5 separate regions of the Homo sapiens genome follow, and all the other regions are linked to region 1. The links are contacts of gene promoters, found by promoter capture Hi-C in blood cells and fetal thymus (Javierre and others, 2016). All regions are on one chromosome and are shown on one strand. Each heading gives the region's core, a stretch centred on a gene start or on the middle of the fragment in contact. The rest is flanking DNA. Distances are from core to core; before and after follow the strand shown. Region 1 holds the start of CEP89 (centrosomal protein 89). Region 2 has its middle 6.7 kb from the start of PDCD5. Region 3 has its middle 13 kb from the start of PDCD5. Region 4 overlaps ANKRD27 (ankyrin repeat domain 27). Region 5 holds the start of NUDT19 (nudix hydrolase 19).

Evidence for each region. Contacts are between HindIII fragments. The CHiCAGO score rates a contact against its expected background, and 5 or more counts as called.
Region 2: a contact is called between a fragment that was not itself captured here and the fragment with the promoter of CEP89 in region 1, in 2 of 17 cell types (naive CD4 T cells and total CD8 T cells). The highest score is 6.3, in naive CD4 T cells.
Region 3: a contact is called between a fragment that was not itself captured here and the fragment with the promoter of CEP89 in region 1, in 3 of 17 cell types (naive CD8 T cells, total CD8 T cells and naive CD4 T cells). The highest score is 6.5, in naive CD8 T cells.
Region 4: a fragment that was not itself captured here is called in contact with the fragment with the promoter of CEP89 in region 1 in 1 of 17 cell types (naive CD8 T cells); the score reaches 5.3 in naive CD8 T cells.
Region 5: the fragment with the promoter of NUDT19 here is called in contact with the fragment with the promoter of CEP89 in region 1 in 8 of 17 cell types (non-activated CD4 T cells, naive CD4 T cells, megakaryocytes and 5 more); the score reaches 8.6 in non-activated CD4 T cells.

The regions. Positions count from the first base shown.
Region 1 is chr19:32,970,215-32,973,463 of GRCh38, reverse strand. It overlaps CEP89 (centrosomal protein 89), which reads left to right and starts at 1,506. Exons shown (of 19, transcript NM_032816.5): 1 at 1,506-1,628. The coding sequence starts at 1,590. It overlaps FAAP24 (FA core complex associated protein 24), which reads right to left and starts at 1,222. Exons shown (of 5, transcript NM_152266.5): 1 at 1,118-1,222; 2 at 162-280; 3 at 1-38. The coding sequence starts at 267. RefSeq lists enhancers at 1,049-1,098, 1,479-1,698 and a silencer at 1,239-1,368. The HindIII fragment of the contact is 6,189 bases long and covers 75-3,249 here.
Region 2 is chr19:32,572,894-32,576,142 of GRCh38, reverse strand. No RefSeq gene overlaps it. Among named protein-coding and RNA genes, the nearest start is that of PDCD5, 6.7 kb to the left of the region's middle. The HindIII fragment of the contact is 3,532 bases long and covers 1-3,249 here.
Region 3 is chr19:32,592,946-32,596,194 of GRCh38, reverse strand. No RefSeq gene overlaps it. Among named protein-coding and RNA genes, the nearest start is that of PDCD5, 13 kb to the right of the region's middle. RefSeq lists enhancers at 2,497-2,996, 2,007-3,206, 2,997-3,249. The HindIII fragment of the contact is 2,118 bases long and covers 474-2,591 here.
Region 4 is chr19:32,634,887-32,638,135 of GRCh38, reverse strand. The region is part of intron 12 of ANKRD27 (ankyrin repeat domain 27); the gene reads left to right. It also overlaps the pseudogene RPS12P31. Among named protein-coding and RNA genes, the nearest start is that of SNORA68B, 28 kb to the right of the region's middle. The HindIII fragment of the contact is 4,616 bases long and covers 1-3,249 here.
Region 5 is chr19:32,690,360-32,693,608 of GRCh38, reverse strand. NUDT19 (nudix hydrolase 19) reads right to left here and starts at 1,788. Exons shown (of 3, transcript NM_001105570.2): 1 at 935-1,788. The coding sequence starts at 1,648. It overlaps NUDT19-DT (NUDT19 divergent transcript), which reads left to right and starts at 1,313. Exons shown (of 2, transcript NR_186320.1): 1 at 1,313-2,246. It overlaps LOC124904690 (a long non-coding RNA gene), which reads left to right. Exons shown (of 2, transcript XR_007067226.1): 2 at 1-644. RefSeq lists a silencer at 1,416-1,825. The HindIII fragment of the contact is 6,189 bases long and covers 1-1,960 here.

The DNA.
Region 1 (3,249 bases), core at 257-2,756:
TGGTGTCAAGCCATCCTCGAAAATGAGCTTAATTTTCCCTTAAAATACAGAGAAGAAAATGAGTTCCATAAGCTTTGGATGAAAAGATGGCAATAATAGGCAGATTTTTTTTTTTTAATATGTCAGGGGAGGAAAGGGCTGGCAGAGGGCAGGCCACCGACCTTGCATCTCCTGCGCCAGCTGTGACCCGCGCCATTTCTCATTGGCCACAATATGCCCCAAAGGCACGTGCACGGGGCCCGTATCATCAGGGGGGTTCTTTTCCATGGATGGTCTCCACCTAAGGAGGGAAAAGCCAGGCGGCACTTGAGCAGGCTCTCCTGCACACGGCCCTGCATTCCACTCCAAGCCAGGGCCTCTGGGGCAGGATCCCCTCTGCAAACTGAATTATTTGTCAAAGAACTGTCAAATAAGATTCCCTTTATAATTACTAATAAGAAAACACAGGCTGGGCGCGGTGGCTCACACCTGTAATCCCAGCACTTTGGGAGGCCGAGCGAGGCGGGTGGATCACAAGGTCAGGAGTTCAAGACCAGCCTGGCCAAGATAGTGAAACCGCGTCTCTACTAAAAATACAAAAAAATTAGCCGGGCTTGGTGGTGGGCACCTGTAATCCCAGCCACTTGGGAGGCTGAGGCAGAGAATTGCTTGAATCCGGAAGGCGGAGGTTGCAGTGAGCCGAGATCGCGCCACTGCACTCCAGCCTGGGCGACAGAGCAAGACTCGTCTCAAAAAAAAAAAAAAAAAAGAAAAGAAAAAGAAAACACAAAGGCCTGAATGAAGGCCAGGGTGGCTGGAGACGGGATGTGTGGTGGTGGAGGTGGTAATGGCATTGGATTCCAATAAGGCCAGAGGCACGATCAGATTTAAGTTTTAAAAGAATCCTGGGCTGGGCATGGTAGCTCACGTCTGTAATCCCAACATTGGGCAAGGCTGAGGCGTGAGGATCGCTTGTGCCCAGGAGTTCGAGACCAGCCTGAGCAATACAGCGAGATCCCGTTTGCCAATTATTTGTGGCGAAATAAATTCTCTAAGAACCAGGAGATTCCTGTCCTGGTGTCCGCGTCCTTCATTTTCATCACGTGCCTAGCCCCTGATACCCCAGCTGGATCCGCACCGTAGCTTCTCAGTCCAGTCCAAGGCCCGAATACAGCCGGCAGGAACCCCACCGTCCCAGTCTAGAGATCATGTTACTGGTGGCCGCGCCACCTTCCGGGTTCACGCCCTCGGTGCTCGCCCAGTCCTTCATCCAGCCCGCCCTCCGCCTCCCGCAGCGCCGGATAGGCTGTGGCGTCAGAAATGGACGTCTAACCTGACCAATAAGAGAACGGATAAGGGCGGACGTTTCCGCCCTGGCGGGGATTTGAACGGTACCCACTGGTTGCCAAGAACGACCGGTGTGGAAGTAACCTTAGCTCTGATTGGTCGAGGGCCGAGCTGAGCCAATGGCCGACGTGGTTGCTGCAAAGTCCATTGCGAAGAGAAAGCGTGAGGGCTGGGCCTGCGGCGGGCTTTAGGGAGTGGTCCCTGGCTGTGGATAGATCTGCTGATGAGTCCAGGCCCCGGTCCATTCTCCTCGCGCTGCAAGGATGCTCCTGGGATTTCGGAGAGGCCGCAGGAGTCATTTCGTAAGTAGATGCTCGCCCGCCGCGCGTGGGGCTCTGTGGGGCCGGGAATTAGGGGTAAAGTGTTGGGGCGGGTTGGGGTTTGGCCTGAGATCCAGTCAAGGGGGCGGCACAAGAGAAAGTGGTTTTCAGTTGAGGAAGCCTTGATTTTTCGTGTTCTAAACTTTTTTTTTTTTTTTTAAGAAACAGGGTCTCGCTCTGTCGCCCAGGCTAGAGTGCAGTGGTGCGATCATAGCTCACTGCATCCTCGAACTCCTGGGCTCAAGCGATCTTCCCACCCCAGCCTCCCGAGGAGCTGAGACTACAGGCGCGCGCCACTACTCCCGGCTAATTGTTCAATATTTTTGTGGAAACAGGGATCTTGCTATGTTCCTATGGTGGTCTTGAGCTCCTTAGCCTCCTAAAGTGTTGGTATCACAGGCGTGAGCCACTGTGCCCGGCGTTAACAATCTTCTGCCCCAGGGTCGGCCACAGTTGGACAGGAGCACCCTGCCTCCCCTGTAGCATTCGTCCCCGTGCCCGGAGTTAACTCCTGGACGACGTACACCTGCTGCACTGCTGGATATAGCCATTCTTCATTTTTCCCTCCTCCACCCACCATGTACACCCCATCAGCAAGTCCCATCCGATATACCCACTACATACATCTGCCAGCTGTTCCCATCTCCACCCACACCCCGGCCTCCAGCATCTGTCTGGACTGCTGCGGCAGATCCTCACTGGTTTCTCTGCTTCCACTCTCGCCCTTCCCCTAGGTCCATTCTCCACGTAGCAGCCAAGGGGATTCTTATATTTATTTATTATTTAATTTAGTTTTAGAGACAGGGTCTTGTCCTGATGCCCAGGCTGGAGTACAGTGGCATGATCATAGCTCACTGTGGCTTCAACCTCTTGGGTTCAAGTGATCCTCCTGCCTCAGGCTCCTGAGTAGCTGGGACTACAGGTGTGCACCACCACACCTAGGTATTTTTTATTTATTTTATTTTTTGCCTCACACTCTGCCAAGTCTCAATGCCTGGCTAATTTTAAAAATTATTTTGTAGAGGCCACGTGAGGTGGCTCTCACCTGTAATCCAGCACTTTGGGAGGCTGAGGCAGGCGGATCATTTGAGGTCAGGAGTTCAAGATTAGCCTGGCCAACATGGTGAAAACCCATCTCTACTAAAAATACAAAAATTAGCGGGCGTGGTGGTGGGCACCTGTAATCCCAGCTACACGGGAGGTTGAGGTGGGATAATCGCTTAAACCCGAGAGGCAGAGGTTGCAGTGAGCCAAGATTGTGCCACTGCACTCCAGCCTGGGCGACAAAGCTAGACTCTGCCTCAAAAAAACATAATTTTTTTTTTTTGGTAGAGATGGGGTCTGGGTATGCTGCCCAGGCTGGTCTTAAACCTTGGCTCAAGCAATCCTCTCACCTTGGCCTCCAGAGTGTTGGGATTACAGGTGTGAGCCACTGCATCTGGCTTGAGTTTTTATTTAAAGCCCCAAACATTAATGAGTCCCTGCTGTGTGCTGATACCCACAACTGACAGCTTATGGCCACACGGTCTGTAGGATAGACAAGCCCATAAATAATTCTGTACACAATGGTAAAACAAGAACTGCTGTTGATGTGTGTACCAGA
Region 2 (3,249 bases), core at 395-2,894, 400 kb after region 1:
GAACAGGTGAGGCAGATACGCAGGCTCAGGATTGGCTAGTTTGAGTAATTTTTGTGGGCTCTGCTTCTAATAGTCTGGTACTGGGCCCTGGGGTGACTAGGGCAGAGAAATAGTTGCCCTGAGTGTAACAGCCCTGTGAGGGCCCTGAAACGGAGGTGGTTGGGGAATGACTTCTGGATTGGCTGGTGTGCATCTGAAAGCTGTGCTCACAGGAGAGTCACTTACTATCTTTAGGATGTGGCTAGCCCTGGGAGGGACCATCCCTCCAGGGTCAGCAAGGCCCCAAGATGTCAGAGCATCAAAAACAGAAACTAGAAAATGCATGGTGCATAGATACCATGGAATACTATGCAGTCATAAAAAAGAAAGAAATTATGTTCTTTGCAGCAACATGGATGCAGCTGGAGGCCTTTATCCTAGGCAAATTAACACAGAACAGAAAACCAAAAATTGCATGTTCTCACTTATAAGTGGGAGCTAAATCTCGGGTGCACGTGGACATAAAGATGGAAACAACAGACACTGCGGACTCTGACAGTGAGACGGAGGGAGGAGGGGAATAGTTGAAGAACTCTCTGTTGGGTACTATGTTCATTATATAGGTAACAGGATCAATAGAAGCCCAAACCTCAGCATCATGCAATACACCTGTGTAACAAACCTGCACGTGGACCCCTGTATCTAAAATTTTAAAATAAGAAAACATGGTTATTATAGTCTCTCCCACATGCCATAGGCTGTCATTAGATAGTTGGTGGTCCTTGATTAGCCTGTTCATTTTTTTGGGCGGGGGGTGGGGAATGGAGTCTCGCTCTGTTGCCCAAGCTGGAGTGCAGTGGTGCAATCTTGGCTCACTGCAACCTCTGCCTTCCCGGTTCAAGTGATTCTCCTGCCTCAGCCTCCCCAGTAGCTGGGACAACAGGTGGGCACCACCACAGTCGGCTAATTTTTGTATCTTTAGTAGAGATGGGCTTCACTGGATTGGCCAGGCTGGTCTTGAACTCCTGGCCTCAGGTGATCCACCCGTCTTGGCCTCCCAAAGTCCTGGGGATTACAGGTGTGAGCCTCCACGCCCGGCCTAACCTGTTCATTTTTAAGGAGAAAGCAAGAAAGATTTGATTAGGAACTCCAAGTGTATGGGTGGGTTTATTGACTGGTAAGAAGCCAGCTGAAAGGCTGAGCTCTGTGAACCTGCTGTTATAAGTGGAATTATGTCCCTGCAAAAAGACACGTTGAAGTCCTTACCCCCAGTATCTTAGAATGTGACCTTGGAAATAGGGTCTTTACAAAAGTAATCAAGTTAGAATGAGGTCATTGGGGGTGAGCCCTAATCCAGTATGACTGGTGTCCTTATATAAAGGGGATATTTGGTCCAAGCACGGTTGCTCACGCCTGTAATCGCAGCACTTTGGGAGGCCAAGGAGGGCGGATCACCTGAGGTCAGGAGTTCGAGACCAGCCTGGCCAACATGGTGAAACCCTGTTTCTACTAAAAATACAAAAATTAGCCAGGCATAGTGGCGCACACCTGTAATCCCAACTACTCGGGAGACTGAGGCAGGAGATTCACTTGAACTCAGGAGGCAGAGGTTGCAGTGAGCCAAGATTGTGCCACTGCACTCTAGCCTGGGCAACAGAGTGAGACTGTGTCTCAGACCAAAAAAAAAAAAAAAAAAAAGAAAGAAAGGTGGGGGATGAGGGGAGGGAGGGAAATTGGGAAAATTTGGATGCAGAGACAGACATGCACAGGGGAAGATGAACATGATTGGAATGATGTATCTATAAGCCAAGGAGTGCCAGAGATTACCAGCAAACCACAAGTAGCTAGGAAGAGATGGGGAAGGAGCCTCTTCCTACAGGTTTCAGAGGGAGTATGGCCCCGCTGACACCTTGATACCACACTTCCAGCCTCCAGAACTGTGAGACAATATTTTTTTTTTAAAAAAGATGGGGTCTCACTCTGTTGCCAAGGCTGAACTCTAAACTCCTGGGCTCAAGTGATCCTCCTGCCTTGGCCTCCCTAGGAGTTGGGACTACAGGTGCGCACCATCATGTCCAGCTCTCTAAACATTTTGCAGAGATGGGGTCTTGCCGTGTTGCCCAGGCTGCTCTCAAACTCCTGGCCTCAAACCTTCCTCCCACTTTGGCCTCCCGAATCCCTCCCAAATCCCTGCTGGGATTACAGGCACAAGCCAGCATGCCCAGCCTGATATTTTCAGAAAGGAAAATTATTATCATCAGCTACTGCAGTACTTCTTTCTGCATGGCCAGCAATTTTCTTTTGTTCTAAGCCACTCAGTTTGTGGTAGTTTTATATGGCATCCCTAACAAACTAATTACACATTTCTTTCTTTCTTTCACCCTCCCTTCTTCCTTAGCAGGACAGGCCCCAGAATTGGGGCTAAGCCTGGGAGGGTTTCTTGGCTTTGCCCAGGAGAGAATTCCAGGACAAGCTGGTGGTGTCGGATAGCAACTTCTCTTGAAGCACTCATGCACAGCAGCAGCAGCAGAGGGGCCGTTCCTTGCGGAGCAGGACCACCCCACAGGCAGTGTGCCTGGAGGAGCAGCTCAGAAGCAGTGCTGCAGCCACATTTAGACTCACTTTTAATTATATGTAAATCAAGGGGCAGATTATGCAGAAATTTCTAGAAAAGGGGTGGTAACTTCCAGGTTGTTGGGTCATTGCCATGGAAAGGGGCAGTAATTTTTGGGTGTTGCCATGGAAGTGGTAAACTGACATGACGCACTGGTGGACGTGTCTTATGGAAAGGAGCTTCCAGCACATCCCTGTTTTAGCTAGTCTTCAATCTGGTCTGGTGTCCAAGCCCCGACTCTGGAGTCTGTTCTGCCTCCTACCTCATTTTCTCACTCTGAGACCTAGGCTGACAGAGCAGCTGTCATCTCAATGCTACCAAGTACCAGGGAAGAGATAACCTAGTGAACTGCACACTGTCCCTTTAAATTTTTTTTTTTTTAATTGGAGACGGAATCTTGTCTGTCACCCAGGCTGGAGTGCAGTGGTGTGATCTTGTGTCCGGAATTGGTGGGTTCTTGGTCTCACTGACTTCAAGAATGAAGCCGCGGACCCTCGCGGTGAGTGTTACAGCTCTTAAGGTGGCGCGTCTGGAGTCTGTCTCTTCTGATGTTCAGATGTGTTCGGAGTTTCTTCCTTCTGGTGGGTTTGTGGTCTCGCTGGCTCAGGAGTGAAGCTGCAGACCTTTGCGGTATGTGTTACAGCTCTTAAGGCAGT
Region 3 (3,249 bases), core at 283-2,782, 380 kb after region 1:
GGGTAGTGCAATATAATTTTGAAAACATTTTCTTGAGATGATGGAGTCTCGCTCTGTCACCCAGGCTGGAGTGCAGTGGCACCATCTCGGCTCACTGCAGCCTCTGCCTCCCAGATTCAAGCAATTCTCCTGCCTCAGCCTCCCGCATAGCTGGGATTACAGGTACCTGCCACCATCCATGCCTGGCTAATTTTTATATCTTTGGTAGAGATGGGGTTTCACCATGTTGGCCAGGCTGGTCTTGAACTCCTGACCTCAAGTGATCTGCCCACATTGGCCTCCCGAAGTGCTGGGATTGCAGGCATGAGCGACTGCGCCCAGCTGAAAACATTTTCACATATACCCATTTAATTTCAACAATCACTGTGAATGGTAGAATTGTCAAATGAGGAAACAGGTTCAGAAAAATAAGGGGACTGCGAGGGATCTCACAGCCAGGATCAAGGCCTGGTTGGCAGTGGCAGCTGCAAGCTTGGTGTACCCTTCCTCTGGAGAGGTAAATGCTGTTTCTTTTTGAGCTATTCTGGTCATCAGTAATGTTTTCCATCTTAAGTGACTCCCTCGATTATTTTTAAAAAACAGTTGTCATCCTGGCCAACATGGTGAAACCCTGTCTATACTAAAAGTACAAAAATTAGCTGGGTGTGGTGGCGTGCGCTTGTAATCCCAGCTACTTGGGATGCTGAGGCAGGAGAATTGCTTGAACCTGGGAGAGAGGTTGCAGTGAGCCAAGATCATGCCACTGCACTCCAGCCTGGCAACAGAGCAATACTCCATCTCAAAAAAAAGCAAACAACCAGTTGTTTTTTCCAATTGCTTTCCCTACCCAAAACTTGATGTGACAGTTGAGAAATTAATGCCCCTAATTTCCATTTTTGTGGAAAAAAGTTTTGAATTCAAAGTAACGCAAGTTCACTGATTTAAATTAGAAAGTTTAGAATAACCACTCTCCACTCCCTAAAATGTACTCCAGCCTCTTATTGCCATCAGGAACCTCTCTCCTTGTACATGGAACCACTTTTCACTCTCAGGTAGGTGTCTGAAAGAGTCTGACCATCTTTAAACACACTCACAGCAGTTGCCATTAGGACAGTGGTTATCCTGTGAGAAAGCACAGAACTTGTGAACTGCCTCATGTCCTCCTAGCATTTGTATGTAAATGAGGCCTAAAGCAAAATTTACCTGTAAATGGGATTTTTTTCAAAATCCCCGACCAAATTTTTTTTAAATTACCAGTTTACCCTGACAGAAAATCCCCAGCCAGATTTCATCTTATGATCATTCTTTTAAAAATATGTTGATGTTCTCAACGGTTCTACTTATTTATAATGTTAGATATTGTTCTATTTCTTCACTGACAATAGTTGCAAATTTCAAATATAGTAGAATCTCCAGTTTAAACATGTATCAGTAGTATGCTGGCTAACGCAGAGACTGGGGTTTGCAAACCACATTTCCCTTCATTTTTTTACTAATCCTATTCACCTTGTTAAATTTATGAATTTAATCCTGTGCTAGGTCTCACAGGACTACGACATTTAAAAGGTTACACCAAACAGCTGGTTGATGGTTAAGTTTATGATTTAAATATATGAGCAGTGGCTTGCACCTACAGTCTCAGCTACGAGGGAGGCTGAGGTGGGAAGATCAGTTAAACTCAGGAGTTTGAGGCCAGCCTCAGCAACACAGCAAGTCTCCGTCTCTGAAAACCGTAACTTATGAGTGCAGGTTTTCATAACCTAGTGGAAAGAAAGCACAACAAAAGAGAGAACATTTAAGTCACCTGCAACATTATCAGTGATATGTTACCAAAATGTTTAAATGCTGAAGTGTCTCAACTGGATTTGAAATCATTAGAAGTCATTTCTCTTACAAACATGTTTATTACTGTAGTAGCATTACCAACATGTCTATTTTGGTCATTTTCTTTTTCAGTCATTATCACTCTAGTTATTTTGGAGGGAGTGGTATTTGTTAATATCAGTACCTCTGAAAAACAATTATAAATGAGATCAAAGCTAGCTTTTTTTTTTCTTTGAGATGGAATCACCCAGGTTGGAGTGCAATGGCCTGATCTCAGCTCACTGCAACCTCTGCCTACCAGGTTCGAGCCTCCCAAGTAGCTGGGATTACAGGTGTGTGCCACCACGCCCAGCTAATTTTTATATTTTTAGTAGAGACAGGGTTTCACCATGTTGGCCAGGCTGGTCTCAAACTCCCGACCTCAAATGACCTGCCAGCCTCAGCCTCCCAAAGTGCTGGGATCACAGGTGTTAGCCACTGTGCCTGGCAAAGCTAGGAATTTTCTTACATTAAGTGGAAGTAGTATCTGCAGGAAGAGAAAGAGCTTACCTGCTTTCAGAATCTACATCTTAGAATATTAGATGTGCTCAAATGTTGAACCTGATTCAGTCTGATGGACAGGTTTTAATTCCCCTTATGTTATTGGCGGCTGCTGCTGCTGCTGCTATATTTTTCTTCCTGAAGAGTGCTGGAGCAGCTTCTGTTTCCGCCACGGACACTTTTCCTATCTAATATTCATGGCACAGTTGCAAAGGGTAGAGTCATGCTGGTACACGTGCTTAAAAGCTTTTGGTCAGGGAGGAGCCAAGATGGCCGAATAGGAACAGCTCTGGTCTACAGCTCCCAGCGTGAGCAACGCAGAAGATGGGTGATTTCAGCATTTCCATCTGAGGTACCGGGTTCATCTCACTAGGGAGTGCCAGACGGTGCAGGTCAGTGGGTGCAGCCCACCGTGCGCTAGCCGAAGCAGGGCGAGGCATTGCCTCACTCGGGAAGCACAAGGGGTCAGGGAGTTCCCTTTCCTAGTCAAAGAAAGGGGTGACAGACGGCACCTGGAAAATCGGGTCACTCCCACCCAAATACTGCGCCTTTTCCAACGGGCTTAAAAAACGGCGCACCAGATTATATCCCGCACCTGGCTCGGAGGGTCCTACGCCCACAGAGTCTCGCTGACTGCAAGGCGGCAGCGAGGCTGGGGGAGGGGCGCCCGCCATTGCCCAGGCTTGCTTAGGTAAACAAAGCAGCCTGGAAGCTCGAACTGGGTGGAGCCCACCACAGCTCAAGGAGGCCTGCCTGCCTCAGTAGGCTCCACCTCTGGGGGCAGGGCACAGACAAACAAAAAGACAGCGGTAACCTCTGCAGACTTAAATGTCCCTGTCTGACAGCTTTGAAGAGAGCAGTGGTTCTCCCAGCACGCAGCTGGAGATCTGAGAATGGGCAGACTGC
Region 4 (3,249 bases), core at 535-3,034, 340 kb after region 1:
CCCGGCCCCCAGGCTTTAGGCTGTCCCTGTCTTGAAGGTGGGGCTTCACTGGGCACCTGCACCTTTCCACCCAGAAGCGTGTCTGCCTTCTGCCACCATCAACATGCTGGCCAGTGCATCCAGGCTGTTTGTGCCAAGGGGCATCTGCAGGCCTGCACTGAGCTGCCCTCAGCCCCTACCTTGACTACTCTCCCATGCTCATCAGCGCCCAAAATCTTGGAGGGGTCTGAGGCATCAGGAGGCTGGTGTGTCAGTGTCACACCAAGCATGTGCACACATGGCTGGGTTGCAACAGTACCCGGGCTTGGCCTCAGCTTTGCTCTGAAATTGAAGTCGGTGCCAGGAGTGGGGAGGAGCGGGAGCAGGCACTTACGAGCCTGCGGCGGCAGGGATGCTTCCTGGGCCCCTGAGAGTGCAGAGATTCCTGGATCCAGAGCTGCGGCTGGGCGGCTGCAGCTGCGCCTGGGAGTGCAGGGCTCCCGCCCTGCCAGCTCAGTAGGAGATGGGGGCTCCTGCCTGTTCCTGGCTCCTGTTGGCCCTGCAGAGTGCACAAACCTGGCCGCGCTTCCTCCACTGCAGCTTACGTCTTTGCAGCAGCCACTCCCGATGGGCTGCCACTGCCATCTGTGAGACCATTAATGTGTGCAATTTGAGGACTCAGTGGCCTTGCCATTGTTTCCTTGGTTTTTATTGAGCATTGGCTGGGGTCGGCGAGGGGATGTGATTATATTTCTATGTGAATCGTGAGAATCTTGAACCATGGTTGTCCTGCTGGCCTGTTTTACTACATACCAATGAGTAAAATGTGATCATACAGAAATCACAAAGTTGAAATCTATAAAATGAAAAGATCTCTGTATTATAAGGTGAGAGTGCCAAGGATTGAACATTCATCTTTGTCAGACTTTGATGTAGAATCTCCCAAAATAATGATGAGCTAAAGCGTCTGGGAGACAGCATCAGCCTGTCCAGGTGCTCTCAGGTGCAGGCATTTCCACCCCATTCATTCGTTATTGACACGTTCATGCATTTTCAGTCTTTTTCCTACCCATGTATATTTTACATAATTGAAATTATATTGTGTGCTGGGCCGGGCACGGTGGCTCACGCCTGTAATCCCAGCACTTTGGGAAGCCAAGGCAGGTGGATCATCTGAGGTCAGGAGTTCGAGACCAGCCTGGCCAACATGGTGAAACCCTGTCTCTACTAAAAATACAAGAATTAGCTGGGTGTGGTGGCAGGTGCCTGTAATCCCAGCTACTTGGGAGGCTGAGGCAGGAGAATTGCATTAATCCGGGAGGCAGAGGTTGCAGTGAGCTGAGGTTACACCACTGCACTCTAGTCTGAGCAACACAGCAAGACTCTGTCTCAAATATGTGTATATATATATAAAAAATATATATATATATATAGAGAGAGAGAGAGAACTGTTTTTTTCCCAAAAGAATAGCTTAATTTTTTCCTAATTAGAAGACTAATATTTGCTTACAAATAATATTTGCAGTCTATAAAATGGCAGTGAAGACAACAAAAACTTCCCATAAACTTACTAGCCAGGGGTGACACTTATTAATATTTTAGCATTTGTCTTTTTTTCTGTGCATACACAATTGTATCTTTTTTTTTTTTTTTGAGGCATGTGAGCCAGCATTTTATTCGTTCATTTCTTGCATGTGAAGCACTCCTCAATCACATCCTTGGCCCGAGATTCTTTGCCAAAGTCCTTAACTGCTACATAGCTGCAGCTAGCCCCTTCATAGGGTCTCCCCTCTCTGTCGTTTTACAGAGGCCTTACCCATTCCTTTCGTTTCTCATTGTCATCAATCTTAATTAGTTTGACCTGGTGTTCAGCACCTAGGGTCTCCCTAATGTGGCACATGCAGGCTTATCACAGTTGGATGCAGGCACACCAAGATGGGCTCAGCAGTCGTCTGAGGCTTTGGCAGCTTGGCGAATTCCATGTGCTAGGCCACCGTGGATGAAGGCGTCCTTCAGCACCCCTTGTAAATCAGTGTTAACATCCATTACACCGCCAGCAGCAGTGTCTTCCTCGGCCATGGCAGTGGGTCACGGGTGCAGCAGTGCAATGTCTTCCTCAGCCACGGTTGTGGGTCATGGGTGCAGCAGTGCAAGACCTTCCTCAGCCATGGCAGTGGGTCACAGGTGTAGCAGTACAATGCCTTCCTTGGCTATGGCGGTGGGTCACGGACGCAGCTGAATCTTGAACACACCTGAGCCTCTGCCTCCACGTGACTTGGCGGTAACAAGGAATGAACACAGTTATCTTTTTAACCAAAATTTTAGATCATGATCTCGCTGTACTCGTTGACAGTATTCAGGTACTTGTTGAAGAATTAATCTCTGCTCTTCTCTGAAGTCTGATTTAATCACCCCACTCAGCTGCCAGTGAAATTGGGGGTCATCCATCGCATCTCGGATGTGGCTGGCTGTGGCTCTTCTGAAAAGTTTCTTTCTTCTGCCTTGTTTCCATATTTAGGGGGAAATCAGCAAGATTCTAGAGTATGTATGTGGGCTGGGTGCAGTGGCTCATGCCTATAATCCCAGCACTCTGGGAGGCTGAGGCGGGTGGATCACCCGAGGCCAGGAGTTGGAGACCAGTGTGGGCAACATAGTGAGACCTTGTCTCTACAAATAAATAAATAAATAAAAAAGAATGCGTGTGTGTGTGCTCTTGTGTCTCTACCTATGCGTGTGTGCAGATCAGAATTTCTGTTCATTTCCAAGGCTGGGGAGTAAGAGTTGTGAGTTTGACTTGTTTTCTATGAGGCTGTGGGAACTTGTGTTTCTCTCACCGTGCCTGCGGTGGTTTTTGCCCTGCCCTCTGGTTCTTGCAGGGCAAGAAACAGATTGGTCTGAGAGTTCACTCCCTGGCCGGCTTTCCTGCCCTGCAGAGGAATCACTCTGCTGTGCCTTGCTGGGCCCAGGGTGTCTCTGGTCACCTGGAAGGAGGTGTCCACCTCTCAAAGATGCTCCCATCCCCTTGCTGCTCCCTGTAGCGTGGCTGTCTTCTGCTTTCTCATTTTCTGTGGAGGCCTTCACCAGGTTGTAAGGAGGTGGCTGACCAAACAGTATACATCGGCTTCTCACACCTCCTTTTATTTCAGAAAATATTGCAGGCACATTGGCAGTAATATTTGAGAGGTTCCTTCTCTCGTGCTGGTGTTGGTTTGAGGGTTTGAGTCCAGTCTTTCTTTTTTTTTGAGACTGAGTCTCGCTCTGTCACCCAGA
Region 5 (3,249 bases), core at 539-3,038, 280 kb after region 1:
CTCTGCAAAATGGACCAATCAGCAGGACATGGGCAGGGCCAAATAAGGGAATAAAAGCTGGCCACCCAGCCACCAGCACCCAACCTGCTCTGATCCCCTTCCGCTGTGGGAGGTTTGTTCTTTTGCTCTTTGCAATAAATCTTGCTGCTGCTCACTCCTTGGGTCCGCACTACCTTTATAAGCTGTAACACTGACCACAAATGTCTGCAGCTTCGCTCCTGAAGCCAGCGAGACCACAAACCCACCAAGAGGAACAAACAACTCCTGACGCACCACCTTTAAGAGCTGTAACACTCACTGCGAAGGTCTGCGGCTTCAATCCTGAAGTCAGCGAGACCACGAACCTACCAGAAGGAAGAAACTCCAGACACATCTGAACATCTGAAGGAAGAAACTGGACACACCATCTTTAAGAACTGTAACACTCACTTCGAGGGTCCGCGGCTTTATTCTTAAAGTCAGCGAGACCAAGAACCCACTGGAAGGAACCAATTCTGGACACACCAGGAGCTGGAGACGAGCCTGGGTGTGCAACACAGAGAGACAAGACCCCCATCTGTACCAAAAATAAATAAAAATAGGAAGACTGGATCATATTAAGTCTGTTCTCCAAGAAAACCAAATTAAACGGCTGTGGAGATGTACTATGTCTACACATGTACAAGTGCTTACACAGTGGCCACGCTGGAGGAACCACGTGGAGAGACAGGCTCCAGGCCTTGAGACCCCAAAGCCTAGGAAAGCAGAGAGCACTTCACCAAGAGCATGGCTTTGGTCTACAGGGGTGAGAGTTTCCAGCCCGTCTAAGCGTTCCTTGCTGCTTAATCTCTCTGGGCTTGGCCTATGCGGGGGTCCCTTGGGGGCCTGGGCCGCTGGGAGGGGTCCTCCCTCTCACGTCCTGGCGGTCCGCAGCAAGGCCCTGAGCAGGCCTTACCTGGTAGCCCACCACCTCCGCCAAGTCGGGGTAGACGGGCGGCGGCTCGCGCAGGCAGCACAGGAAGAAGGCCGTGTCAAAGCGGCGAGTGGTGCCCCGCAAGAAAGGGGTGAGCCAGGCGCTCCAGTTGTGCAGCGCCCAGATGTCGGGTGTGCAGTCGAGGTGGGCGCACAGCCGCAGGAAGTGGCGCGGGTCCTGGCGCACGCGGTCGCGCCAGGAGGCCAGGCCCGGCGGTGGCTCCAGGGCGAGGCCAGGCCCGGGTGCTGGGCCTGGTGGGGAAGTCCTGGGCCGCAGCAGCAGCACGCCCGCCTCCTCAAAGGCCTCCCGCACGGCGCAGATGCGGAAGGCTACGTCCTCAGGCAGCGTCCCAGTGTTGTCGGTCTTGTGGTCATCGGTGTCGGGCAGCGACGGGAAAGCGGTGCGGCTGAATGGCGCCGGGCCCAGGCCGAAGCGCGGCGGCCCGTGGTGCGGCGCGAAGAGGCCCAGCCAGTCCGCCGAGCGGTCGGCCGCATCCAGCACTCCGCCGGAGAAGACGTGCGCGCCCGGCATGAAGCCTTGGTGCGGGGAGCGCTGCAGCAGCAGCAGCCGGAAGCCCTCGGCCGGCGGCGGGCGCGACGGCGGGGTGGCGGTCTCCGGGCGCGACCAGCCAGCCGCCAGGACGATGCTGGCCGCCCGCCGCCAGCGGCTGGGGCCCGGCCGCAGGGAGCTGCTCATGGCGCGCAGCTTCCCGGATCCGATTCTGGCGCGGCCTGAGCTCCACGGCAGGTGGCCCGGCCCTGCAGGGACCCCAGCACCTCCGGGGGCCTCGCGGGAATTGAGGACGAGCCTCTGGCGTTGGGTGAACCTGGGCGTTTGGTCGGCAACGGCGCCTGCCTGTGGGAGGGGCACCCGAGCAGGGACCGCCTCGAGTGCACTGGGGCCCAGCTAGGGCACTCTCGCGGGACAATGGGTGTCACGGCAGCCAGCGACCGTTTGTCATTCACAGCTGCCTGAAAGGAGGACCGCAGTATTCCCACGCAGGAAGCTTGGACCAAAAGCAGGAATGCTTAAGGGCGCATATGACTTGCCATGGTAAAAAACAGGATGCCAACCCAGGCCTGATGACATCCACCTCACTAAAAGCTAAGGACTAGGACTTTCTGCTTTAAACAAGGACCCACATGTGGGTGTTTTCTGTGGGAGAGGGAGAGAGGACATTCGAAGGGCAGAAGTCTGACCTTTGCAAGCACACGTGAACCACACCAATGAGAAATGAATGGACGAGCCAGATGCCAATTTATAAATTTCCTACTGCACACCTTGAATGTGAAAGGTACTCCCAGAGTAATTTCTCTCGTGTTCTGGTTACCTTTTATTGTCAGGGCGCCTGGGGACGGCCTTAGGTGTCTTAGGACATTTGACGAGTTCCACTTTGATGGGAGATGTTTAATCTGGGCCTCCACATGGAGATTTCTCTCCACCTTGTTAGTGTCTAGAAGACTTCCACCTCCAATAGCAGGATTATGATCTTTTGAAAAGCCTGTGTAAATTTGAGTCTTTTCTTTTATAACTCCTTATCAGTCACCGACAGCTTTTCCCATAATTGCTATTATAATTGGATCACACATTTGTTATGTTTTTGGATGAAATACACTATACCCCTGCCGACCCTCACAAACCATCATTTTAATGTGGGTTATTTCCTGGGTAGAATCCACAGATGACATTGTCAATATTTAGGGGTTTTGTTTGTTTTTTTGTTTGAAGAGACCTGGTCTCTGGCCAGGCGCTGTGGCTTACACCTGTAATCCCAGCACTTTGGGAGGCCGAGGTGGTCGGATCACCTGAGGCCAGGACTTCAAGACCAGCATGGCCAACATGGCAAAACCCCGCCTCTACTAAAAATACAAAAATTAGCTGGGTGTGGCGGCCCGCGCCTATAGTTGCAGCTACTCAGGAGGCTGAGGCAGGAGAATCACTTGAATCTGGGTGGAGGTTGCTGTGAGCCAAGATCCTGCCACTGCATTCCGGCATGGGTGACAGAGCGAGACTCTGTCTCAAAAAAATAAATAAATAAATAAAATAAAAATACAGAGCAATGGAGAGAAAGGCACTCAGGTGATTAAAGTAACATGTCTTCAATACTAGGAGTAATAATAATCCTAGGGGATAATAATATTAGTAGTTACTGGGTACAGTGTGTGAGGCACTAGGAACTTTATTAGTATTAGTTGTGTAATTCTTACAAAACCCCATGAAGTGGAAACAGTTACCACTATTTTACAGATGACTAACCATTTATGGAGGGATTAAGGGTCTTAAGAACATACTACTCC